Regions from separate parts of the Homo sapiens genome. Here all the other regions are linked to region 1. Evidence: promoter capture Hi-C in human tissues and cell types (Jung and others, 2019). All regions are on one chromosome and are shown on one strand. The core of a region is centred on a gene start or on the middle of the fragment in contact, and the rest is flanking DNA. Distances in the headings are between cores, read along the strand shown.

The links. Contacts are between HindIII fragments. The study calls those that stand out against the background at their distance.
Region 2: a fragment that was not itself captured here is called in contact with the fragment with the promoter of CERS4 in region 1 in 2 of the 25 tissues and cell types used here (dorsolateral prefrontal cortex and liver).
Region 3: a contact is called between a fragment that was not itself captured here and the fragment with the promoter of CERS4 in region 1, in 5 of the 25 tissues and cell types used here (H1 embryonic stem cells, dorsolateral prefrontal cortex, hippocampus and 2 more).
Region 4: a fragment that was not itself captured here is called in contact with the fragment with the promoter of CERS4 in region 1 in 3 of the 25 tissues and cell types used here (H1 embryonic stem cells, mesenchymal stem cells and spleen).
Region 5: a contact is called between the fragment with the promoter of CCL25 here and the fragment with the promoter of CERS4 in region 1, in 3 of the 25 tissues and cell types used here (dorsolateral prefrontal cortex, mesenchymal stem cells and spleen).
Region 6: a fragment that was not itself captured here is called in contact with the fragment with the promoter of CERS4 in region 1 in 1 of the 25 tissues and cell types used here (spleen).

Annotation. Positions count from the first base shown.
Region 1 is chr19:8,207,411-8,211,612 of GRCh38, forward strand. It overlaps CERS4 (ceramide synthase 4), which reads left to right and starts at 1,960. Exons shown (of 12, transcript NM_024552.3): 1 at 1,960-2,084; 2 at 3,296-3,452. RefSeq lists a silencer at 1,641-2,560. The HindIII fragment of the contact is 7,028 bases long and covers 1-4,202 here.
Region 2 is chr19:8,457,598-8,461,799 of GRCh38, forward strand. All of the region lies in intron 2 of HNRNPM (heterogeneous nuclear ribonucleoprotein M), which reads left to right. Among named protein-coding and RNA genes, the nearest start is that of HNRNPM, 15 kb to the left of the region's middle. The HindIII fragment of the contact is 5,699 bases long and covers 1-4,202 here.
Region 3 is chr19:7,958,921-7,963,122 of GRCh38, forward strand. It overlaps ELAVL1 (ELAV like RNA binding protein 1), which reads right to left. Exons shown (of 6, transcript NM_001419.3): 6 at 1-4,202. Among named protein-coding and RNA genes, the nearest start is that of TIMM44, 17 kb to the left of the region's middle. The HindIII fragment of the contact is 4,499 bases long and covers 134-4,202 here.
Region 4 is chr19:8,024,975-8,029,176 of GRCh38, forward strand. No RefSeq gene overlaps it. Among named protein-coding and RNA genes, the nearest start is that of ELAVL1, 21 kb to the left of the region's middle. RefSeq lists an enhancer at 4,195-4,202. The HindIII fragment of the contact is 5,079 bases long and covers 1-4,202 here.
Region 5 is chr19:8,050,246-8,054,447 of GRCh38, forward strand. CCL25 (C-C motif chemokine ligand 25) reads left to right here and starts at 2,515. Exons shown (of 6, transcript NM_005624.4): 1 at 2,515-2,577; 2 at 2,755-2,877. The coding sequence starts at 2,805. RefSeq lists silencers at 68-157, 458-517. The HindIII fragment of the contact is 31,009 bases long and covers 1-4,202 here.
Region 6 is chr19:8,066,923-8,071,124 of GRCh38, forward strand. All of the region lies in intron 63 of FBN3 (fibrillin 3), which reads right to left. Among named protein-coding and RNA genes, the nearest start is that of CCL25, 16 kb to the left of the region's middle. The HindIII fragment of the contact is 6,042 bases long and covers 1-4,202 here.

The sequences.
Region 1 (4,202 bases), core at 710-3,209:
AGGTGAGAGGACTGCTTGAGCCCTGGAGTCCCAGGCTGCAATGAGCTGGGATCATGACATTCCATTCTAGCCTGGGCAACAGAGTGAGACTCCCATCTTTAACGAAATTTTTTTTGATAGAGTCTCACTCTGTTGTCCAGGCTGGAGTGCAGTGGCACGATCTCCACGCACTGCAACCTCTGCCTCCTGGGTTCACGTAATTCTACTCCAGGCTAATTTTTGTGTTTTTAGTAGAGATGGGATTTTGCCACGTTGGCCAGGCTGGTCTCAAACTCCTGACCTCAGGTGATCCACCCGCCTCAGCCTCCCAAAGTGCTGGGATTACAGGTGTGAGCCACCGCACCCAGCCTCTAACAGATTTTTTTAAAAAAAGAAAAGAGAAGGTCGGGCATGCTGGCTCACGCCTGTAATCCCAGCACTTTGGGAAGCCAAGGCTGGTGGATCACGAGGTCAGGAGTTTGAGATCAGTCTGGCCAACATTGTGAAACCCCCGTCTCTCCAAAAAAAAAAATATATATATATATAAATTAGCCGGGTGTTGTGGGCGCCTGTAATCCTAGCTACTCGGGAGGCTGAGGCAGGAGAATCGAATGAAACCAGGATGCAGAAGTTGCAGTGAGCCGAGATCATGCCATTGCAGTCCAGCCCGGGCCACAATGCAAGACTCCGTCTCAAAAAAAAAAAAAGAAAAAGAAAAAAGAAAAGAGAAACAGTGTAGCAGAGGGAAGGCCAAGTGCAAACGCCAGGAGTCTGAACTTGGAGGGACAGGTTCTTCCACACTTGCAACAGAGGTCTCCTGCCTCCCTGACCGCCCCGCCCCCCGCGCCCCTGTCTGTGTGAGGAAATCAAATCTCAGCTTGCCTAGGGCCCTGTGGCAGGGAGGCCCCAACTTCACCCCATGGGTCTTGGGTCTGCTGAGCTGAGTCAGAGAAAGGTTTATTATCCCCATTTTACAGAGGCTTATTGTCCAAAGGCGAAGCCACTTGCCCAGAGTACATGCGGTGGGCCAGCGACTATGAAAACCCCTGGGGCTGTCCTCTGTTCAGGGATCGCCCAGGCTCCCTGCCCCTGCGCGCTGCTGAGACTGGGTCATTTTCGGTTCTACCAGGCAAGCGGGGGACCCAGCCCCCACTGCTGCTGCCCTCAGCCAAAACCAGGGCTGCGCCACCACCCACCCGGCCTATCTCCCATCTTATCTCCCCAGCTCTGTCGCCTGACCCCTGCACCCCACCAAATCGCAGCCTTTGCCCGGTGCCCTCACCGCCTCGGTTGGCCCCCGCGCGCGCCTCGGGCGAACCCCTGGACTGGCCCTCCAACAGGGCCCCAGACTCGGGGTACCCAGGGTGGCCGCTGAGGCCTGGAGAAATCTGGGCCTCCCCTGTGCACCATCCAACTGCGCGCCCCAGAGGCTCAGGGCGCCCCGGGAGTGTGGGGGTGTGGACAGATGAGCAGAGCCAGAGCATCTCGGGCAGAAGAGGGGACCTGGGAGGGGGCCGGGGAGACAGACAGCGAACAGGGGTGAAGCCGGGGCCGGACGGAGCGCGCAGCGGACAATACTGGGTTCAAAGGGGAGAGATAAGGCGCAGACTAGAAACGCTAGGCTGGACCCGGGCCAGGCGCGCCGCGGGGCAGAGATGGGCGGAGCGGGAACGGGGGCGGGGGCGAGAATGGGGGGGCGGGGACGGGGGCGGGGATGGGGTGCGGGTGCGGGGTCGGGGGCCAGGGAGAGGCCTAGTTGCGTCGAGGGGGGCAAGCGCCTGGAGGACCCGGCGCCCGCTCCAGGCCCTGCCCCTCCAAGTCCCCCGCCCCGCGCCAGGCCCCGCCTCTCCAGGGCCCCAGCCCCGCGCCAGGCCCCACCGTTCCGGGGCGCGTGCCCCGCCCAGGCCCCGCCCCCACGGCCCCGCCCCGGGCTCCCCCCACTCAAGCCTTTTTTCCCCTGCTGGGGGCCGAGGCCCGGCCAGGAGCAGAGTCCGGCTGCCTGGGGCGGGCGGCGCGTGTCTGCAGCTGCTCCGGGTAGCCCGCTAGGCGCGCCGTCCCCAGCCCCGCCGCCGGCCCTCGGTGCGCCCGGCCGCCTGCACCCCCAGGTAAGCGAGCACCCCGCGCCGCGAACACCGCCCCGAACGCCACCCTCACGGCGGTCCCCGGCCCCGCCTCCGCGGCCATGGCGGCCCCAGCCCGGCCCCCACTCGCAGCTGGGCTCCAGCCCCCATCACCCCGCCGGGGACTGTCCCCCTCGGGGCTTCCCATCATGGCCGTCTCCCCGAGCTATCCGCGCTCCCCCACGAGGGCCGGGGCGCAACGGGTGCCCGAGGACGCGGCTGTGAAACGGGCTGGAGCGAGTAGGGGCGATCCTGGCCTCGTGACGCGGGGGAATCCGGATGTGTGAGCCGGGGGAGCGCCCCGTTTCCCCGACGTGCCAGGGCTGGGGACGCAGCTGGGGCCCTGGCCTCGGAGTCCGCAGCCCGGCCGCGTAGACGGCTTCTGAGAACCGCTTAAACACGTCATTCCAAGCCCGAGCTAACCCATCAGGCGGCCGGGGTGAGGTGGAGGTGCCCAGGCGGGGATAATGTCATTTGGCCTGGTTGGACCAGCCAGCGAGGGCTTTTTAGGCCCAGGGCCTAGCCGGGAGTGTGTGCGGAGCAGAAAAGAGGCCAGCCTGGCTGAAACGCGGAGAGGGAGGGTCTGAGGTGGAGAGAGGTTGGCCGGGGCCTGGGAAGCGGCGAGGAGAGTGTGGAACCCGTTCTCGGGGCGGTGGGGACCAGGGAGGCTTGGAACAGCAGGTGCATGGCGTGATCGGATTGTGTCTTAAGAACATCCCGTAGCCGCTGTGGGTAGGAGAGATGGGGATACTTGGAAGGGGGCTTCTGGCTTGACCTGGCTGGAAGGTGTGATAGGAAGTGGGTGAACTGAAAATTCGCTTTGGCAGAGTAACATCGTCTAATTCTGTCTGTTTGCAAGTGGAGCGTGGGGGACCGATGTTTCTCCTGGGTAGTTAGGAGTATATAGAAGAGGCTTTCATTGCTGGGTTGGGAGACTTGAGGAGAAGCTGCTCTGGGGGACACAGGAAGGTGGGCAGGGGGAGAGGCTGTTGTGGTTTGCAAAACCTACCAGATGGGGGAATGCTCCCATCGACTCCAGTCTGAGCTCAGGCAAGGTCTCAGGCATCTGAGCGCAGAGGCCAGGGTGACCCCACTGGGGCGACCTGGGTCTGTTATATGGGGATAGGGTTCCTGGACTGTGGAATTGTCTTTGAAGCCCTCGGCCTCCCCCAGCCTCAAATGGGTCTGCCTTCCAGGAGCAGCTGCTGTGAATAAACACAGAAGTGGAGCTGGGGGACTGATTAGAAGCCTCATTCAGTGCACCTGGGCCCCAGCAGGCCCAGCCAGGCGTGGAGGAAGAGGCATTGAGGACTTTCCTTACCTGTTTTTCCAGCTCACCCACTGCCAGCAGAGGTACTTTGAGCCTGGGGTGTGGGGGGTGGGGGGCGGCCTTGGTCGTTGAACTGGCTGTAGGGCCCCCAGGGAAAGGTTTCTGAGCTTCAGTTTACCCATCTGTAAAATGGGTCAGTAGTATCTGAGCCTGGGAGTGTTCATGGATCGATGAAAGCCGAGGCTAGGCAGATCTCGGTGGCAGCCACACCCCTAAGGAACCGGAGAGGGTTCTAACGCCCGGTGGGAGTTCAGGGGGATGTATGGGCTTCCATTTCTCCTCTGAGAAATTCACAACAGTGTCCACCTCCTGACCCAGGGCTGTCTGCAGGTTGAATAAAGCGGTTGACCCAGTGCGTGGCACAGAATGTCTTGGCTCAGGAGCCACTGGGATGCCTGTAGTTGGCAGCAGAAGTGGGCCCAGGTTCCCTCCTCCCACCCGTGGGATGGCACAGAAAGGCAGGTGCCTTGGGAGCTCGCTGCCCTGTCCCCTTCTCTGAGCACCACAAGCTTCTCCCTTTCCGACTGGCTGGGCTTGAGCCTGACCACCCCCCAGCCCTGTCCTGCCACTTTGAGTTGAGGGCCTCCGGGCTACTGACTTCACCACTTCCTGCTTCAGTTTCTCCACCTGTAAAATGGGATAATAGCAGTCATGACCTATAGGTAAAGAGCTGAACACAGTGCCTGGCTGGTTGTGAATACGTGCTAAACAGGCTATTAAAATATCACGAGAATATCACAGAGCTGGAGGCTATTAAAATATCACGGAGGGGC
Region 2 (4,202 bases), core at 469-2,968, 250 kb after region 1:
TGTGGGTAAAGTGACTCAGAAAGGTAATCTTTTTATGATAATGCTTATATTCAGTATGTGAGGTCTAAAGAAATTTACTGTGTTTACATACATATGACTTCTTAAGAAATACTCTTCTTATTACGTGCTTTCAAAAAGACGTTTTTATTCCCGTTTTGGTGTACAAAAAATGTTTAAGTGGTTAGTTTAAATCTGAAATATTTACTTGAAATTTGTTGCGCATAAGTTTTAAGTGTTTTGAAGACTTTATACATAGGAAGAACTGGCAGATAGAGGCACTTACAACCCTAAAAGTATTAGTCTCAATTCCAAAACACAGAGATCTGGGCTGTTGTAACCTAAGCACTCTTTATCAGTCTGTGTTTTAAGGTCTGATGAATCTTAGCCTTGTTTCAGGAAATGAGTAGAACAAGAACTGGAATTAGTTGTCCTCAACTGAAATTTTCTGTCATTATAGCACTATCTAATTGCAGCCTCTCAGAACTAAAGTAGCTAGCTTTGAGAGGCCCAAGAGGGGAGCTTTTTTTCTAAGGATACTCCGGGGGGAGATTGTCTCACATGCTCCTCCCTCACTCTTGATCCTCTTCCCCATCTTTCATACCAGCTGCATATTCTCCAGCTTTAATTTTAGCATTTAGCAGCATTCTAGCATTTCCTATTAAAAATCCACATAGGAAGTAAACTGGTCATTTATGCCTTTGAAAGTGACTTAACAGGCCACAGCTCCCCAGGTTGTATCCTGACAGGTAAAGGGATACACATCTTAAAGTGATTGACCATAAGGACTGGGTGGAAAAAATAAAGATTTCTGTGAGAAAAGGCGATCTTAGGCTTTTAAACTTAGTGTCGTGCTACATTTGTTTGAGACCAAGTCCTGTATGAGTGGAGGAAGCTCCTTGCTGGGCTGCTTCTCTTGACCTCACCAGGCAGCCGGCAGCACCCAGGTGGGGCAGTGCCACCAGAGCAGGACTGAGCTGCACCTGCAGTGAGTAAATAGAGCCCAGGTTGAGGAAGAAAGGAAGGTCAGGGATGTAGTTTACCCTCAGTCGATCCGAAGTTTAGCAGCAGTCAGTTCAACTTGTGTAAGCAAAGATTTCTTTTAAGCACTTAATCCTTCTGTTAGTATAATACACCACTTTAAGTAAATTTCAAATTGCATCTGACAGAAAACTAAGGCCCAGAGGGCAAGTGTAGTCCAGTAGAAAACCTCCATCTTGGCTCCTGGAGATAATTTGCATTGTGGGTCTATTAGGCAGAACTGTATTTTCAATTTAAATGATATTCCTACCCAGTCTACTTGCTTCTTCATATTTTCCTCTGTTGGAAATGCAGCCTGTATTTTATTTATTTTGTTTTTGAGATGGAGTCTTGCTCTTTTGCCCAGGCTGGAATGAAGTGGTGTGATCTGCAACCTCTGCCCCCTGGGTTCAAGTGATTCTCTTGCCCCAGCCTCCCAAGTAGCCGGGATTAGGCACCCACCACCACGCCGAGTTAATTTTTGTATTTTTAGTAAGAGATGGGCTTTCACCATGTTGGCCAGGCTGGTCTTGAACTCCTGACCTCAGGTAATCTGCCTGCCTTGGCCTTCCAAAGTGCTAGGATTACAGGCCTGGCCGCAGCCTGCATTTTAGAAAGGCCTGTTATGCTAAAGCGTTCATATGTATGAATACTTAGGTTGAGCCCCAGCAGTGCAGCCTGTCTGGCTTACCCCGTGTGGTCTCTGGTGTTAGGGAAGCAGTAACGTTCTGTTATTGCCACGCAATTGAGGAGCGTGGGCTCAGTCATTTCCTAACATGTCCATAAGCCAAGTAGGTGTGTAGAATAATTATTTTGCCATGTTTCAAGGTGTCTTTATATTAAAGAGTGTGCATGTGTTCTGTGCACTCCCCTCGCCCAATAGAGTGGCAGCCTGAGAATTGACCGTTATGAGATGAAGAATGTTTGACAACATGCCTGACTTTCAAGTCCCCCCAACTCCTGTTAAAAAAAAATATATAGGTCTTATAACATGTGAATTCTCTTCAGTGAAGCTTCGGCACTGTATTCCCTCTTTTTTTCTTTTTCAGACTTGAGCAGTAAATGGGAACACAAAAACAAATACTCATTTGGCTAAAGGTCTGTGCAGGAGAGTGAGGTCACAGTAGCTCCCAGGGACCGCCTGAGTTCTTTTTGGGTTGCTCATCTGCTTATCCTCCTGATGTGTTTTAAGAATAAGGCAGTCTTTTTAATAATTCACTTAAATGTTGGTCAAAAATGATTTCTTAGAGCATTTTAAATAGAGGTAGATAACAGTTGGTGTTAGATTTTTTAATGTCTTAGTTTTTTCAATATTTTGATGTTTTAAGCTGCAGTAGAATTTGTCTTAGCAGCCTACTCTTGGGATTCCATGAATTCCATCCATGTTTACACAGGGGGAGGAGCAACCGTATTTTTTATTAATAACTGTGAGTGCCGTTTCTGTAAGACTGCTGCTACTGCCAAGCTGTCACCTCTACCCCTGAGTCCTGACTGTGTGATCTGCTCTGGATGGTTTGCTCGTTAAACTTCACTTCATGGAATGTGACCAGACTGTTTACTTGACAAATTTTGCCCTCACATTCTTGTCGATAGTTGTACTGACTACATAAAATAAATCTTTGCTTTGCTATTGTAGAACCAAAAGGGAGGTGGTCTTTTAAAGGCTCCATTTTCCTATAGGAAAGTATGAATTAGCAGCTATTGCAGATCCCTTAACACTTAATGGATGGTCTCTCAGGGTAGAGGTTGGAATTTTATGAGTTTGTGAGGAGGATGGGCATTACTGATGATCTCAGGGACAGCACTACTCATGCTGGACCCCCGGGTGACTGCTAAATGATGATACCACTTGAGGTAAAAAGAGGGAGAACGTTTTAAGCAAATTTTTAATACAAAGGATTGAGTCAGGTGTGCTATTTCTAGACTAGACTGTTACGTGGAAAAAGTCCTAATTTCTAAACCTCTCTTTTTGTTAAAGTGGTTATGGCCATGGGAAAAAGTTTGGTTTGGATTTGCTTGGTTTCTGGGTTGCAATTACAGCTTTTTGATCCAAGCGTCTTATGGACACAGACTAGAAACTTCCCATGCAACTGGGACTTGAATTTCGGCAACATGGTTGCAGCTGTTTTGAATTAATTATTGTGAGTCTTTTATTTTTTAAAGGTTATTAGGTGGTAGTCATAGCTGGTAGGAAATCAACTTGGGGCCTCTTCAGTCACTATTTTGACACTATGTGGCATTTTCATCAAAGTGGAGACAAGGGTTGGTGGTCCTTGAATGGCTGCTGCTCTTGAAACAAATGGCTTTTTAACATGGCCTCAGGGCGGCTGCATTTTTGGAACTGCTTTACTTTTTAAGGGTTAAATAAAGCCGCTTTGTACAACTGTCCCTTGGCTGTGATCATTTTTCAGTTTGCCCCACAGGAGTACATACTCTAAAAGTAAATTGTACTGATCCCTCATATTTCCGTTCTTCATTTCTTTGCACTGATGATTCTCCTGTTTTGTACAAAGTGTCAGTTTCGTTCTGAAACATTTCAGGAGAGGACAAAGAGGGTGAGGCTCTAGATGTAAACTTTGGACACTTGGCTTTCTTGCCTTCAACCAATGTGCAGAGCCATTAATAAATATGTCCTTCAGATCTTTAAATTTTTTGTAAAATAATTTTACCTTGTTTTTCATTAAAAATTTTTCTTCCTATAGCCTCATAATTTTAATGTCCTTTAAACAAAAGAGTTGGAATAGGCATGACTTGTTGAGGCCGTTAAGCGGGTTATTTTTACCCTTGTACTGCTAAACCAAACCGATCCAGAGGACAACAAAAGCCCATTTTTTGCCTTTGGAGAGTCTGGTTAGAGATAGTTTTCTCCAGGGTAACACTTTACATTTGTTTTCTGTGTGCCATCTTCAAGTTCAGCAGCCATTTTGGTGGTTGTCTTGATGGATTCTAACATCTGGTCATGGTGGTCATGAATTGGCAATCCAAACCTTGAGGAAAATCTGCAGAAACTTTTGAAATGCTTTGGTTTTTTCCCTTTTGTGTAGATTAGAATCATATGAGTCTGTTTAACTGTTTAGATACAAAATCTGAGCCCTAAATTTGAATTTATTTGTGTCCTTTAAATGGGGAGGTTTAGAAAGCGGCAAGAATGAAGCCTGGCCTAATTCACTGAAGAGAATCCAGAT
Region 3 (4,202 bases), core at 1,133-3,632, 250 kb before region 1:
ATATTCACACTTCACTAAAATTTTGAAAAATGGTCTTCTTTCAAAGCTTCTTTATTAATCTGAAGTCTTCTGGGTTATCAAAATCTAGGTTTGCTTTTTCCTCCTAAAACACTAAAGAACATTTATTCACAAGGATTAAAAAAAAAAAATAAAAAGGCAATGGGCTGATGGAAAACTGATAAGGGCTTTTCTTTTTTTTTTTCTGAAAATAATTTAAAAAGCTTAAAAGTTACATAGGCATCTTCAAAAGAACACAATGGGATTCATTTTATTGTTGACTTTTGGACACCAGTGTCAGACTTTATTGAAAACAAACCCATGTAAAAACAAAGTTAAAATGAAAAATGGCACCTGAAAAATAAATTATTTTATATAAAACAAATCAATAACTTAAAACACACTAATATACAAAAGGTCTAACCATCTACTGTACAACATGGGAATCGGTTAAGAGAGCCTCCCCTCCCCCAAAGCAAGTCACTGTAAACGGAACATCACATGGTCATGGTCAAAGAGGTGGCCCCAAACCAACGGAAAAGGCTTCTCTTCTGGTGGAAGAAAAATCCAGTCCTGTCAAAGTCTCCGTTAGCCTAACTTAGGTACTGGCGGTGACTTACAAGTGAGAAAAAAAAAATTTGTTTTTTTAAATGGCCAAGAAAGAAACCTGAACGATGTCACTGAAAGGTTGTAGAAAAATAGGATCCAGCCATTAGAGGTCAGGGGAAATCAAAAAGGTTTGGAAATGTGAACCCTGCCTGGGATCCGAGATTCAGATTCTACTGCCATCATTACACGCCAATTGCCAATGCCACTTAAAAGAAAGCACTTGTGACTTCAGGGCTGTCTTGCGAAGTTTGGGGACAGGAACCCCTGACCCCCAGAGTCAGCTAAACCCCAGGGGTCTCTGCTAAGGAGCTGCCTCAGGTCCTAGTAGGTGAGGTAGGTCTGGGGAAGATGGGAGGGGATTGAGGTGGAGGGTGGGGTGGAGGGACAGGATAGAGGCCTCCTGTCAGCTGAATTCTTATTCTCTTTCATCCAACACAGGAAGGCTGCGAAAAGCACATGGAAATAAAAGGGGGCTGAATCGGATGTGAAATGTAACAGCTGAGTGATGTCAATTTCGATTTTTCAAGTCCGATGCCGGACTGGGTAAGTCATGTCTTTTCAATGCCTGGTGGACAAATGGCCTTCATTTGGAAGCAAACCGGGTCAAGGAATTGCCACTAACCGTCTTCGGGTGCTTCTATTTCTCTGATCCAGCAGGGACCCCTGGGCTGCCGGCTCCAAAGGGCCGGTCTTGGCTCCCAACAGCAGCACGGTTCAGTCCCTGGAGGCTGGGTCTCCAGGACTAAGGCCAAGCGCAGACTCTCAGAGGTTAAGGCAGCTGCCCTTGGCCAGGAAAAGGCTCACCTTCCAGGAGAAGGTGGCGGAACCCACCCAGCACCACCTGCGGGCGGGCCCCCGAGGAAGCCCATGAATTTCAGGATATTCACGCAGGATGGTGGCCGGGGAGGGGACTCAGCACCCGGGAGGGAATCAGTCACAGAGCTGCGACTAGAGGCACAGCCAGCACAGAAAACTGCGGCTTGGCAAATTACACTGAAAACGAAATAATGGCAGAGCCAAGGGGGAACAAGGGAGAATTCATCAGGAAGCAGGTTCACAAATTCGGAGCTGCCTGGGGTCTAACTACCAGAGGAAGTTACACACGGGTCAAAAGGGAATTCAATCAAAGCCTCTTTGGTATTTCCCAAACCAGATTTTTGATAAATGAACATTATCTACTCTGAACGCTTTTTCATCGAAATTCCCAAATAAAAGCAGAGCACTCATTTTTGCTAAATAGAAATACAACTGATCTATGTAAAATTTTTTAAGAAATGGTTTCTTTTGGGTTGAGCCTTTTTTAAGAAAAGGGATCTCCCCTTTGCAAACAGGCCTTGATAAGATGTAATGAACTTTGAGGACACAGGGCCAGCAACTAGAACCTTGATGGAACAGAGATTGCTTTTCAGGAGTGACAGTTGTTAAGCTAAATCCTTCCACAAGCTTGCAAGCTAAGACTCCCAAATAAAGGCTTTGGAATTTTTTAGCTAGAAGGCTGTTCAAACAGCGGAGACCACATACAATGAGAATGTTCCTGAACTGAGAAACTTCAGGGAACTTTCAAAGGCTCATATACTTCACAGTTTCTTCTCACCTGTCCCAGCATCAGAATAATTGATAGGATTCAGATAAAAGGGGGCGAGGAAAGAAGCTGAGGTGCTACAAGCCCGTCATCATTTTCACAGTTGAAGCTTAAGACAGAGTTCTCTGTTGAATGCTAGCTATGGGCATGTGTGGGAGTGAGACTCCAGGGGGAGTTTCAGAAGCGGGAATCCCGCCTTCCATCAGAAGGGTGTTGGCTCCCACCTTCCATCAGAAGGGTGTTGGCTCCCACCTTCCATCAGAAGGGTGTTGGCTCCCACCTTCCATCAGAAGGGTGTTGGCTCCCACCTTCCATCAGAAGGGTGTTGGCTCCCACCTTCCATCAGAAGATGCTGGCCCAGGGAAACCTGAAAGGCTTCTTTTTCCAGGAAAGCATTCTGGTCCCAGGATGCAGACTGCTCTCGGGCAACAGAGCAGGGACCCTCTTTTGTGTCGAATCCGGGCAATGGGCCTCGGTTTTGGCTTTTCCTGAGGATCTGGGATTCTGTGGGAGAAAGGAGGTCCTCTCTGGCACCAGGCCGACTTTTATGAGACACAGCCTGGGTACGGATGGCAACATCATCAATTTGCAAGGATCGCGCACACAGCCCCTCAGTAAAAGATCAGGGAAAGGGGAGGGGATGGGCATCCTCAATTGTCCAGGGGCCTCTCGAGACGCTGACCTGCTCTGGGGACGGTGGTGCCTGCCTATTGCTCAATTTCACACTTCAATAAATAAATACATAAATAGGTATAAATAAACAGATAAATACAGCCATCATCTCATGAGAGCAATAACTAAAAAACAGCCTACGGTCACGTTTTAGTCTCACGTCAAGGTTAAAAACTGCTGGTACTAAGTTATCCTGTTTGTGATTCTCTCTGTAAACTAGTTATTTATAAACGCCAGATCCCAGTCCTGAGGAGTTTTGGGTGATCTGGCCCTGCCTATTTCACAGGCTTTCTCTTTCACCCTTCCTCCGGGCTCCTGGTTTAAAAGCCACCAGCCTGTAACTGCACATTCTTGCGTCACAGATTCAGAAATGCTTTTGCTTGAGGCAAGGATTGGTTTCTTAAGATCTTACGACTCCTCCCTGAATGCTGGGCCACCTGCACCTTCCCTAGCCAAAAAGAAAGAAAAGGTAAAATAAAAAACAAAACAAAATTCGAGCAAAACAAAATCAAATTTAATGGTCTTAAATGCAAAAGTAAAAACAAACAAAAAACACAAAAAAGCAAAAGAAAATTAACAGAACAGAACAACCCAAAATGTCAAGGCAGTTATGAAGAGAACTTTGAGGGTTAATCTTTAAAACTACAAATCAAAGGTTTTGGTTAATAGATAACTGGCAAGAAGTAAGTACTTTTCTGCTGAGTGTTCATACAAAAGCAAAATTCCAAAACAAAATCCGACTAAAATAGAAAAAGGTCTAAGCGCTCACGAGAAGGGATGCGAGAAATACAATGCTCAAATGTTTCTGTGTTATTAAAATACAGAGCCATTTTACGCCTCCAAGCTATGTTAAATGCTCTGGAAAACGGGAGAAATTATCGTGAACAACAGTATCCAATGTGTGGGGCGCTGTGCATGCAATGTGTGGACAGAAACTCGGGATGTCAGAGTAGCAACACATCTTCAGGCGTGCCTGGAGCTTAGATCTGACTCTGGAATATACTGGAGTTTCCCTGAAACTCTTTGGTCCATTCCCATTGGTGCCTGGGCTTACGAAACACGTTTGTGTCCTTCTCTGGAGGGCCCGCCCAGCATGCAGCCCGTGGCCCCCGGCCCCAGTGGTGGCCCACGCTGGACGGGCCCGCCGCCATTCCCAGGACCACTCGGCAGAGCCCGGGACTGAGTGAGCAGGAGGTGGCAACGGGACCTGCCTGGAAAAGGAACTTCCTGTCAACCAAAGCATACATCGCTTACAATGTTGAAGCGGTTGAGAAAACGCACACTCAGCATCTGTCTAACATCTTTAGATTAAAAACTAAAACTAAAAGGTGATTTTTTTGCT
Region 4 (4,202 bases), core at 1,181-3,680, 180 kb before region 1:
CCATGACTGGACTTCTTCCTATTTTTTTTTTTGTTTTGTTTTTTGAGACCGAGTCTCGCTGTGTCGCCCAGGTTGGAGTGCAGTGGCGCGATCTCGGCTTACTGCAAGCTCCACCTCCCGGGTTCATGCCATTCTCCGCCTCAGCCTCCCAAGTAGCTGGGAATACAGGCACCCGCCACTGCGCCCGTCTAATTTGTTGTATTTTTTTAGTAGAGATGGGGTTTCACCGTGTTAACCAGGATGGTCTCAATCTCCTGACCTCGTGATCCGCCTGCCTTGGCCTCCCAAATGCTGGGATTACAGGCGCGAGCCACCGCGCCCGGCCCCTTCTTCCTATTCTTTCAAAGCCACCAGTTGCCCTCCTATGATAACCCATTATCTATTAACCCATGGATCTGTTAACCCAGGAATGGATTAATCAGTTCATGAGGGCAGAATTCTCATGACCCAGTCACCCCTTAAAGGCCCCACCTCTGTCAACACGGCCACATCAAGGATTAAGTTTCAACGTGAGTTTTGGAGGAAACGAACATTGAAACTGTGGCACCAGGTGTTATCAGTCTATTAAGAGCTCATGCAAATTGATAAGCACCAAAGGTGCAAAGATCAGAAACAGACAATTCCCAGGAGGATAAGCGGGGGGTCTAGGAGCCTAAGAGTGGATGTATTGGGCATCAAGGGAGGGCCTGTTGGCCAGGGTTGGTCACAGCAAGGATCATTCCAATGCTGCCGGGACCCCAACACTTGCTTTCTGGCCAGGCGCGGTAGCTCACGCCTGTAATCCCAGCACTTTGGGAGGCCGAGGTGGGTGGGTCACGAGGTTAGGAAATCAAGACCATCCTGGCTAACATGGTGAAACCCTGTCTCTACTAAATGTACAAAAAATTAGCCGGGCGTGATGGCGGGCGCCAGCTACTTGGGAGGCTGAGGCAGGAGAATGGTGTAAACCCGGGAGATGGAGATTGCAGTGAGCAGAGATCATGCGACTGCACTCCAGCCTGGGTCACAGAGTGAGACTCCGTCTCAAAAAACAAACAAACAAACAAAAAACACTTGCTTTCCAAAGGGGTGGCTGCCACTTCAATTGGAAAGACCCTTTGGACAATGCACACCCAGCATATAAGAGGGTTCATAGGCCAGGCGTGGTGGCTCACACCTGTAATCCCAGCACTTTGGGAGGCTGAGGCAGGAGGAGAATTGCTTCAGTCTGGGAGTTCAAGACCAGCCGGGGCAACATAGCAAGATCCTGTCTCTATGGATAAAAAAAAAAAAGGTCGGGCCCAGTGGCTCACACCTGTAATCCCAGCACTTTGGGAGGCTGAGACAGGCAGATCACCTGAGGTTGGGAGTTCAAGCTCAGTAGCTCTCTAAAAATACAGATCACCTGAGGTCAGGAGTTCGAGCTCAGTAGCTCTGTAAAAATACAGTAATTAGCCGGGCATGGTGGTGCACGCCTGTAATCCTGGCTACTGGAGAGGCTGAGGCATGAGAATCACTTGAACCTGGGAGGCGGAGGTTGCAGTGAGCCAATTGCGCCATTGCGCTCCAGCCTGGACAACAGAACGAGACTCCATCTCAAAAAAAAAAAAAAAAAAAAAAAAGAGGGTTCGTAGTCTGAGCTTGTGATTATACCACTGAAAATTACCCCAAGCCACTTGTGGAAGGGCTGCCTGCAGAAGGACGTGTCTTAGGCTCTTTAATAAGTTACCTTCTGGTTGGAAACTACCTAAACGCCCAGCACGCAGGCTGGCCCGGTAAATCACGCACCCATAGGAGTTATGGTCAGGAGGCCTGTGACTCTGTAGAGTGGTAGTGGCTCCCGGGCCCTGGGCCAAGCGCTGTACTGATGCCCTCAAATCCTCATGGTAACAGCCTGTTCAGTTCTGTTCACCCCATTTTACAGCAAGGGGCTGCTCTGGGGGCAGGGAGGAGCCCAGCTGGGTGGGAGATCGTGGGTTCATGGTGGCATCTGTGGGTACTCCATCCAATCAAGGGTCTGAGGCTTAAGAAGCTTAAATTTGGGGGAGATAGGGACATTCTCAATGGTGCAGTTAAAGCAGTGGCTTCAGATTCTGGTGGGAGAGGAAGGAACTGAGGCTGGGGAAAGGGATGTATTGGTCTTTTCTTTGGAAACAGTCTTGCTCTGTCGCCTAGGCTGGGCTGGAGTGTAATGGCACGATCTCGGCTCACTGCAACCTCCGCTTCCCAGGTTCAAGCGATTCTCATGCCTCAGCCTCCTGAGTAGCTGGGATTACAGGCATGTGTCAGCACGCCCAGCTACTTTTTGTATTTTTAGTAGAGACAGGGTTTTGCCATGTTGCCCGGGCTGGTCTTGAACTCTTGGGCAACAGTGATCCGCCCGCCTCAGCCTCCCAAAGTGCTGAGATTACAGGCATGAGCCATCGCCCAGTCTCACTGGTCTTTCATCTTTGTTCCATCCTCATTCCCATTCAGCACCTGATGTACTTCTCTCTTACTGGGGTGCACCCCAGGGGACGCATGACTGTGCTACAGCCCACGGGGTTTCAGCAGGGTGCGCAGAGGACCTCAGGTGGCCCTTGTTACCCACACTCATTCCTTGCCAGGTCTTCCACAGGTCAAGGAGCCAGGATTCTGGGGTTTGGACACCCCATTCTCTGGCGGATGGGGCTGGCCTGGAGCCTGGGTGGGAGTACCGGGTTTCATACATCGGGGGCTCAGGCTTGGGGAGGGGTCACATGGAAGTCACCTGGCTGGCCAGAGCAGTTGCAGCCACAGCAGGTAGAAGGCAGGAGCCAGGACTGGGTGGGCCTGCGTGGGAGGGACGGCCAAACCCTGAAACTAGCCTCCACCCTCCAGGGTACAGGGGCTTCCCTGGACACACACTGGCCTTCCTCGTCCTCCTCTTTATACCATTGCACCCAGGTTTGTTTGTCTGTTTTTAGTGACAGAGGCTTGCTGTGTCACCCAGGATGGAGTGCAGTGGCACATTCTCAGCTCACTGCAACCTCTGCCTCCCAGATTCAAGCAATTCTCCTGCCTCAGTCTCCTGAGTAGCTGGGATTATAGGCATGTGCCACCGCATCCGGCTAATTTTTGATTTTTTTTTTTTTTTTTTTTTTTTTTTTTTTTAGTGGAGACGGGGATTCATTATGTTGGCCAGGCTGGTCTTGAACTCCTGACCTCCAGTGATCCACCTGCCTCGGCCTCCCAAAGTGCTGGGATTACAGACATGAGCCACTGCACCCAGCCCCTGGGGTTTTATTTACCCAGATCCCCACTGCCTTTCCTTCCTGTGGCTGACATCTCCCTACACTGTCCCCCAGAAACACAGCTGTTTTGCCCTCAACCACAGCTCCTGCATCCAGTGCAGGGCCTGGCTCTTGACTGAGACATCAGCAAATGTGAGCCCTGCTCTCCTGGGTCAATGCAGGCTCCTTCAGGAAGGAGGCGGGGATCTGTCCCCCTTGGCATCCCCAGTGCCCAGCATGGGGGGCCTGGCACCCATGAGGCAGCCAAGGCTTTCAGACCAAATGAACAAGCAGTGAGCCCTGCCTTCGAGGGCCCGTCTTGAGGACACCAGGTGGGTTTATGACATCCCAGTGGACATGAGGCCCCCAGGGACCAGTTCCTCTCCGGCATTGGCACCAGGGCCCCTGCCCCACTGGATCAGACCTCCCAAGCTTGGGGTCCCTTTTCCAGTAGGCAAGAGAGGCACCCGACTCCTGCTTCAGCCCAAGGAGAACCTGCCGACTCCAAGGGGTGGCCATTGAGGGGATCAGTGACGTAAGTCCTTCAGAGGCAGCAGGGACAAGGAGCTGTAGGGAAAACAGGGCAGGCCTGGGGTTGGGGGGTGTGGGGTGCTGACAAGGTGCAGACCCACCACCCCAACCAAGCCCCTCCTCCGCAGATCCATCACCTCTGCCCCGTGCCCCATGAATGAACCAGCTCATTCCCCGGCCCAGTGACCAGCACAGGCTCCAGACGTTTCCCTCGGACATTGTCTGCCTGACCACCTCTTCCAGCACAGTGAGGGGCCTGGGATCTGGAGGCCAGAGTGGGCCAGGCCTAGGGGTGGGGGGAAAAACGTCACTATTCTTAGATCCCTCGTCCTCCAGGGCCCAGGCCAGGCGGAGCAGTCACATTCCAGAGGTAGAAACCATCAGCCCACACAAATGCTTGTGTTCCCTGAGGAGGCCAAGGGTCACCAGGAACTAAAATCA
Region 5 (4,202 bases), core at 1,265-3,764, 160 kb before region 1:
CTGGAGGGCCCCCTTACTGGGAACCCTTCCTCCCCGTGAAGGCTGCCGGCGGGACAAACAGTGAGGGGTGAGGCAGGGAGGGAGACTCACGTTGGGGACCTCCCCCAAGTCTGGGTAACACCGTCTTGGCCGCGGCCCGCGGGTTGGGAAGGTAGGGGGCAGTGAGCCGTAGCGGAGAGGCTGGCCCCAGCCCGCCACGCCGCTTCCCCACGCTCGCAGCCACGCGGAGCCGCGTCCTGGTCCAGCCTCACCCACCCAGAGCAAGAGGCGGAGGAACTGGAACAGCGCCCCGGCCCGTGGGCTGCCACTGGCCGCAGCAACGGGACGGGTGAGAGCACCTGCCCCCGACGCGTCTTAACTGCTCTGGTGGGGCGGGGCTGACCGTGCAAGCCCCGCCCCAGTCTAAGCCCCTCCTACAAAGCCCGGCCCCTTACCATAAGCGCCATCTGTCAGGCTCCGCCCACTGTCTTAAATCCCACTCACTCTGCCCTGCCCCTGACTCGGAGCCATATAGCAAGCCCCGCCCATAGCCATAAGCCACGCCCACCCAGCCCTGCCCCTGGGCTCTAAGTGTCATTTATCTAGTCACGTCCCCGGCTAGAAGCCACACCCACCAGGCCCGGCCCCACCTCTAAGCCCCACTCACCCGGCCATGTGGTTTGGGACAGGGAAGTAGGCTAGGGGCCGCCGCCTCTGGGCTCCCAGTGGAAGGGGAGAAATGAGAAAGGAGTTTAGGATGTGATAAATACCCACAGAGGTCAGATGTAGCTATGGATGCAGGCGATAAAAAGTTTAAAGCAATCAGCTGTGCGGCCTCTGCAGCGCTCCTTTCGCCCTCCCTAATCTTCACCTCGTGTCTCCCCCAGTCCCTGTGTCCTGGCTGGGTCCTGCTGCCCCAGGGAAAGAAGACATGCCTTCTCCCATCCTGGCTAACATGGTGAAACCCCGTCTCTACTAAAAATACAAAAAATTAGCCAGGCGTGGTGGCGGGAGCCTGTAGTCCCAGCTACTCGGGAGGCTGAGGCAGGAGAATGGCGTGAACCCGGGAGACGGAGCTTGCAGTGAGCCGAGACAGCGCCACCGCACTCCAGCCTGGGCAAAAGAGCAAGACTCCGTCTCAGAAGAAAAAAAAAAAAGACATGCCTTCTCGGTGAATGTTGCTTTGCTTCCTGAGGGCATGGCTACCCGGGGCTCCTGGCTTTTCTTCCAAAAACAAAACATTTCTTCCATTTTTTCTTTTTCTTTTGTTTTTTTTTTTTTTTTTTTTTTTGAGACAGAGTTTCACTCTTGTCGCCCAGGCTGGAATGCAGTGGCCCAATCTCGGCTCACTGCAACCTCCGCCTCCCGGGTTCAAGCGATTCTCCTGCCTCAGCCTCCTGAGTAGCTGGAATTACAGGTGCCCCCCCACCACACTCGGCTAATTTTTGTAATTTTAGTAGAGATGGGGTTTTGCCATGTTGGCCAGGCTGGTCTCGAACTCCTGACCTCAGAGGATCCGCCTGCCTCGGCCTCCCAAAGTGCTGGTATTACAGGTGTGAGCCACTGTGTCCGGCCACCGTTTTTTTTTCCATTTTTTGAGACAGGGTCTTGCTCTGTTGCCCAGGCTGGAGTGCAGTGGCATGATCACAGCTCACTGCAGCCTCAACCTCCAAGGCTCAAGCAATCCTCACACCTCAGCCTCCTGAGTGGCTGGGACTACAGGTATGCACTACTACGTCAGGCTAATTTTTTAAAAAATTTTTGTAGTGACGCAGGTCTCTCTATATTGCCCGGGGTGGTCTTGAGCTCCTGGGCTCAAGCAATCCTCTGGCCTCGGCCTCCCAAAGTGTTGGGCTTACAGACATGAGCCACCATGCCTGGCCTAGAGAGTTTCTTTCTTGTTGGGGTTGTTCACCGGTGGGAGGTGCACCATTGTGCCGTGCTGACTATATTCATAGAGTTATGTAACCATCACTCTCATCTAATTTCAGAACAAAAGGAAACCCATACCCTCTCACAGTCAGTCCTTCATTCTCCCCTCCCCCCATCCTGTGGCCACCGCTAATTTACTTTCTGTTTCTATGGATTTGCCTGTGATCACAACCAGAGGATTTCTGTGACATGCTAAGTTACCTAACCATGGTGTGGAAGGAGAGGGAAATGGAGTGAAGTTGGGGACCCACCAGGGAACAGGTGGCTTGAGGGCGGGGGGAGCATGAAGGTAAGGGCTTGTTTGGGGGCTCAAGGCAGTCTGAGCCTTGTTCGCAGGCAGCCAGTGTCCACCAGGTGTGTGCAGGTGAGGGAAACAGGGGAAAAGGCCCTTTCTGGAGACAGTAGGGGTGCTGGCTGGGAGGCCTGGGATGGGGAGTGGGGAGGCAAGGGGGCCTGTGGGTCGAGGTTGGAGCTTGCTGTAGAAGAGGGAGAATTCCAGAGGCTGAGAGTGCAGGTGGAGAGGAGGAGGAAGGGAGGAGGGCGGGCAGGGGGTGGCTGGGTGGGGCTCTGTCTATAAAGAGTGAAGCTCAGCGTGTTGGTCCTGCAGATGGGACAGCTTGGCCTACAGCCCGGCGGGCATCAGCTCCCTTGACCCAGTGGATATCGGTGAGTCTTTTCCTTGAACATGACTGAGATGAACAGCTTTTCCCTCCAGCACAACTTGTTCCTACTTTATACAACCTCCTTCCCTTGCCATATGCCTGGGGCTTAAGAGGGGGGATGTTCCCAGTACCCACTCCCCTCCTCTTCCTCAGTCCTTACCACTTCCCTCCACGACCCCAGGTGGCCCCGTTATTCGTCCAGGTGCCCAGGGAGGAGGACCCGCCTGCAGCATGAACCTGTGGCTCCTGGCCTGCCTGGTGGCCGGCTTCCTGGGAGCCTGGGCCCCCGCTGTCCACACCCAAGGTACTGTGTTCGGCAATGCCTACCACCAAGTGCCCCTCTCCCCATGCCCCCACCCCACCCCTTTTGTCTCTTATCTCCTCCGGAAGTCTCCCCAATCCCATCTCCACTGAATTCTCCCGCTCCTGACATGCAGGAACTCCTGGTGTTTGGTTAGCTCTTGGGATGGGGTCGGGGAGATGGAGAGTCCCCAGTTCCTTCTTCGAGAGCCCCATGGAGTCTTTTGCAAGACTCCTAAAGATGTGAGGGAGCAGAGGGTGGCTTCCAGCTGTGGGCAAAGCCAGTTACTGCCAGGGATGTATTGTAGAATCCTAATCCTGCCGAGCCAGGGGTGGGGTTGGAGATCAGGGCCCTGGAGACTGACAAGAGTGGATTCCCATCCTGGTCCCTCCATGCAGTCCAGCTGAGAGTTAGTTGCTCCTAAACCATTTTTTTTTTTTTTTTTTTGAGACAGAGTCTCACTCTGTCACCCTGGCTGGAGTGCAGTGGCGCGATCTTGGCTCACTGCAACCTCCGCCTCCTGGGCTCAAGCGATCCTTCTGCCTCAGCCTCCCAAGTAGCTGGGACTACAGGCGTGTGTACCATGCCCGGCTAATTTTTGTATTTTTTAGTAGAGATGGGGTTTCACTATGTTGGCCAGAGTAGTCTCGATCTCCTGATCTCAGGCGATCCGCCTGCCTCAGCCTCCCAAAGTGCTAGGATTACAGGTTTGAGCCACTGTGCCCGGCTTCCTAAACCTTTAGGAGCCTCCGTTTCCTCAGCTGCAAAGTGGGAATCTAAAATTCCCACTGCATGGCTCTGACTTGAGGGTCCAGTGAGCTCATGCCTGCAAAAGACTAGGCCTCATGTCTGGCGGCGGCAATAGTAACTGTTCCTGTTATTAATAGGGAACTCTTTCCTTCTTCCCCACTCCCTACCGCAGAGCAAGCACTTGAGGATTTCAGTCGCCAAAGGACAATTCCTGGGCCTGGGGTGTCCCCACGGGAGCCCTGACACTGGGTCCTACATCCTCTGAGTTTCAGCAGCTGGCCAAAGCAGGGTCCCTGGCTGGGCGGCAGACCCAGGGTCCCACCCTCCTTCCCTGTCTGCCCCCACCTGACCCACCTGCCCCTCGGCTGGGTCTGATGGGTCCAAGTCCTTGGCCTTTGCCTGGGAAGGGGGTTGGGCTGTGGTCTGATTGTTTTGCTATCAGAGCCAGGCCCAGCCCAGCCCTTCGATCCTGGCCTCCAGCCTTGGGAACTACCTGCCTGGCACTGCAGTCCGAGGTTCCAACAGAATGCGCTGCCCCTTGCCCTCAGAGGCCGCGGTTGGGAGACACCTGGAGGGCT
Region 6 (4,202 bases), core at 813-3,312, 140 kb before region 1:
TATGTTCACTGTTTGGATGATGGGATCAGCAGAAGCCCAAACTGCCTCATCATGCAATATATCCATTTATTAATAACAAACCTGTACCCTCTCAATCTAAAAAAATAGGATGGGCACAGGGGCTCATGCCTATAATCCCAGCACTTTTGGAGGCTGTGGCAGGAGGATTGCTTGAGGACAGGATTTCTTTGTTTCTTCTTCTTTTTCTTTTTTTTTTTTTTTTGAGATGGAGTCTTGCTGTCGCCCAGGCTGGAGTGCAGTGACACGATCTCGGCTCACTGCAACCTCTGCCTCCTGGGTTCAAGTGATTATCCTGCCTCAGCCTCCCAAGTAGCTGGAATTACAGGTGCCTGCCATCATGCCTGGCTAATTTTTGTATTTTCAGTAGAGACAGGGTTTCACTATGTTGGCCAGGCTGGTCTCAAACTCCTGGCCTCAAGTGATCCGCTCACCTCAGCCTCCCAAAGTGCTGGGATTACAGGCGTGAGCCATTGTGCCTGGCCAAGGCCAGGATTTTGAGGTCAGCATGGGCAACATAGTGAGACCTCATCCACCCACAAGAAGTGAAAATATTAGTACTGGTGTGCACCTGTAGTCCCAGCTACTTAGGAGGCTGATGTGGGAGGTCCCAGGAGTTCGAAGCAGCAGTGAGCTGTGATCACACCTCTGCACTCCAGCCTGGGTAACAGACTGAGACCCTGTCTCAAAAATATATATATGTTTATTAGGCACCTACTGAATTCCTGGCAATCTTTGAGGCACTGGGGATTTAGCAATGAGCAGATAAAAATCCTTCCCCTCAGGGAGTTTACCTTCTAGTAAAGCAAAGCAGATAGTAGACAAATAAATGGAAAATGTAAAAGTGACAAGATGTGCTACGAAAAGACATGAAGTTGGCTGAGGGCCAAGGTGGACAGATTGCTTGAGCCCAGGAGTTCGAGACCAGCCTGAGTAACCTGGTGAAACTCTGTCTCTACTAAAAATACAAGAAATTAACCAGGTGTGGTGTTGCACACCTGTAGTCCCAGCTACTAGGGAGGCTGAGGTGGGAGGATCCCTTGAGCCTGGGAGTTCAAGCTGCAGTGAGCTATGATTGCACTGCTGCATTCTAGCCTGGGTGACAGAGTGAGACCCTGCTCCCCAAAAAAAAGAAAATAAATTGATTTTAAAAATCAATAAATAGGCTGGGCGCAGTGGCTCACACCTGTAATCCCAGCACTTTGGGAGGCTCAGGCAGGTGGATCACGAGGTCAGGAGATTGAGACCATCCTGGCTAACAAGGTGAAACCCCATCTCTACTAAAAATACAAAAAAAAAAATTAGCTAGGCGTAGTGTCAGGTGCCTGTAGTCCCAGCTACTCCAGAGGCTGAGCCAGGAGAATGGCATGAACCCAGGAGGCGGAGCTTGCAGTGAGTGGAGATCACGCTGCTGCACTCCAGCCTGGGCGACAGAGCAAGACTCCGTCTCAAAAAAAAAAAAAATCAATAAATAGGGTGGGCACGGTGGCTCATGCCTGTACTCCCAGCACTTTGGGAAGCTGAAGTGGGTGGATCACTTGAGCCCAGGAGTTTGAGACCAGCCTGGGCAACATGGTGAACCCCGTCTCTACAAAAAATACAAAAATTAGCTGGGCAGGTGTGGTGGTACATGTACCTGTGGTCTCAGCTACTTGGGGGATTGAGGCGGGAGGATTGCTTGAGCCCAGGAGTTCAAGGCTGCAGTGAGCTATGATTGCGCCACTGCATTCCAGCCTGGGTGACAGAGTGAGACCTTGTCTCAAATAAATAAATAAATAAATAAATAATAAATCAATAAAAAAATAAAGTGGAGGAAAATACTGCTTCCCTTGGCATCTCAAGTCTGGTTGTTCATCCGCAAGGTCAGCTGGATCTGTAGACTCAGTGGCATAAGGCTGAGGCTGCTTCTGAGAGAGGCAGGGAAACGGCCACTGTTACACACTACAGACCCCTAGTCCCAGCTGAGGGACCTTGCTCAGACCCCTGCCAGCCTGGGCCAAAGGTATCAAAGATTTGCTCTCAGAGACCCAGCAGCCAGGGGATTATTCAGATGACATTGCGACCCAGAGCCCTAAGGTCACTCAGAAATGTCTTGGGATGGCTGGTGTTAGGAACAAGGGCCTTTCAGCAGAAGCCAGCCCCTAAAAGAATGCCAGAGCTGACAGTGAGAGAAACGGGATGCCAAGCAGGGCTGGAGAGGAGAGCGTAAAGGACCAGACAGAAGAGCCGCCTGATAGCTTCCGCTGTGCTTCCTGCATCTGGCCCTCTTTGAGAGCCCCTTGTGTGCCAATGACAAACCCTTCTTTATTTAAGCTCCTCTGAAGTGCCTTCCTGGTCTTGGCAGCTGGACAGGGCCCTGAATAAGACAGCGAGCCTCAATGGCAGGCTACCCCAGGGCTGGGTGACGTATCCAACCCCACAGAAAGTCATCTGTGTTTTCTTTGCCTTTGTTTTAGGGAGCACTGTGTTGGTTTGGCCTCATTTACATGCCGACGGAGTGTTTTGCTGTTGCATTCAAGTGAAAGTTATTCCTGTTCCCCAGCCCCTCAGTTCTGGAGATCTCAGGCCTTCTTCCCACGGAATGTTGTTAAGACTTATGCTCTTACTGACCCCTGCTGGCAGTCAGTGGGTATTGCAGGCAAAGGCACAATACAGCCCTATTTTTGAGACAGGGTCTGTCTGTCACCCAGGCTGGAGTGCAGAGGTGTGATCACAGCTCTCTGCCGCTTTGAACTCCTGGGTTCAAGCAATCCTCCCGCCTCAGCCTCCCAAGTAGCTGGGACTACAGGCACATGGCACCACAGCTGGCTAATATTTTTACTTTTTGTAGGTGGAGGGGGTCTCACTATGTTACCCGGGCTGGTCTCAAAATCCTGGCCTTGACTGGGCACAGTGGCACACACCTGTAATCCCAGCACTCTGGGAGTCTGAGGTGGGCTGATCACTTGAGGCCAGGAGTTTGAGACCAGCCTGGCCAACATGGCGAAACCCCATCTCTACTAAAAATACAAAAATTAGCCCTTCTCTGTCTTGATCTACTTCTGCCCTGGGACCCTGACAACCACTCACTCACTCTTATTGAGTACCAAGGGGTACCAATACAGTAGTAAATCCTACAGACACAGCTCTACCCTTATGAAGTTTACAGAAAATATCAGTAACTATGGGATAATATATACATCCACAGTTTTTCCTAGCAAGGGGGAAAAAATAACTAGAGGGGAAAAAGGGCCTTTCAGTAATACAAAGTAATACACTCACATTTTATCTAATATAGAAAGCCTCTCAAGCCCAATAACCCTATCCCATGTCTCACTTTGTTTTTCCCCATAGCACTTATCATGTATCATATTTGTCATGTGTTATAAAAGATGATATGTTTTACATGTTGATTTCTTGTGTGTCTCCCTTTTAGAATATCAGCCTCACGAGGGCAGGTGTTTTTGTTGTTGTTGTTGTTCACTGTTGCTCCATTACAGTGCCCAGCAGTGGTATTCAGTAAAATCTGTGGAGTGAAGAAGCTTCGACCTAAATGTCTGCAGTGGGGGTGAGTTTGGGGTAATGGTTTCCATGCTCAGTGATAATTGTTTGGGAAACAATGTAAAGTGATGGCTTCGGAAGACAGAGGGGCCCAGGATGGCTGGCCATGGATGCCAAGGCTGCTTGTAAAGAGAAGTCCACGTGCCATATCCATGGAATCTCTGAACCACCACGTTCAAGTTCTGTAACTTGGGCATGTGCCCTAACCTCTCAGAGCCTCAGTTCCTCCATCTGTAAAATAGGGATAATAGTGGCATCTAGGCTGGGTGCAGTGCTTCATGCCTGTAATCCCAGCACTTTGGGAGGCCGAGCCGGGTGGATCACCTGAGGTCAGGAGTTCAAGACCAGCCTGACCAACATGAAGAAACCCCGTCTCTACTAAAAATACAGAATTAGCTGGGCGTGGTGGTGCACGCCTGTAATCCCAGCTACTCGGGCGGCTGAGGCAGGAGAATCGCCTGAACCCAAGAGGCAGAGATTGCGGTCAGCCGAGATCACGCCATTGCATTCCAGCCTGGGCAACAAGAGTGAGACTCTGTCTCAAAAAAAAAAAAAAAAAATAGTGGCATCTACACCTCCCAGGGTTGTCATAAACATTGAGAGGCTGTGAACAGAGAGCACTTGGAGTGATACCTGCATACAGC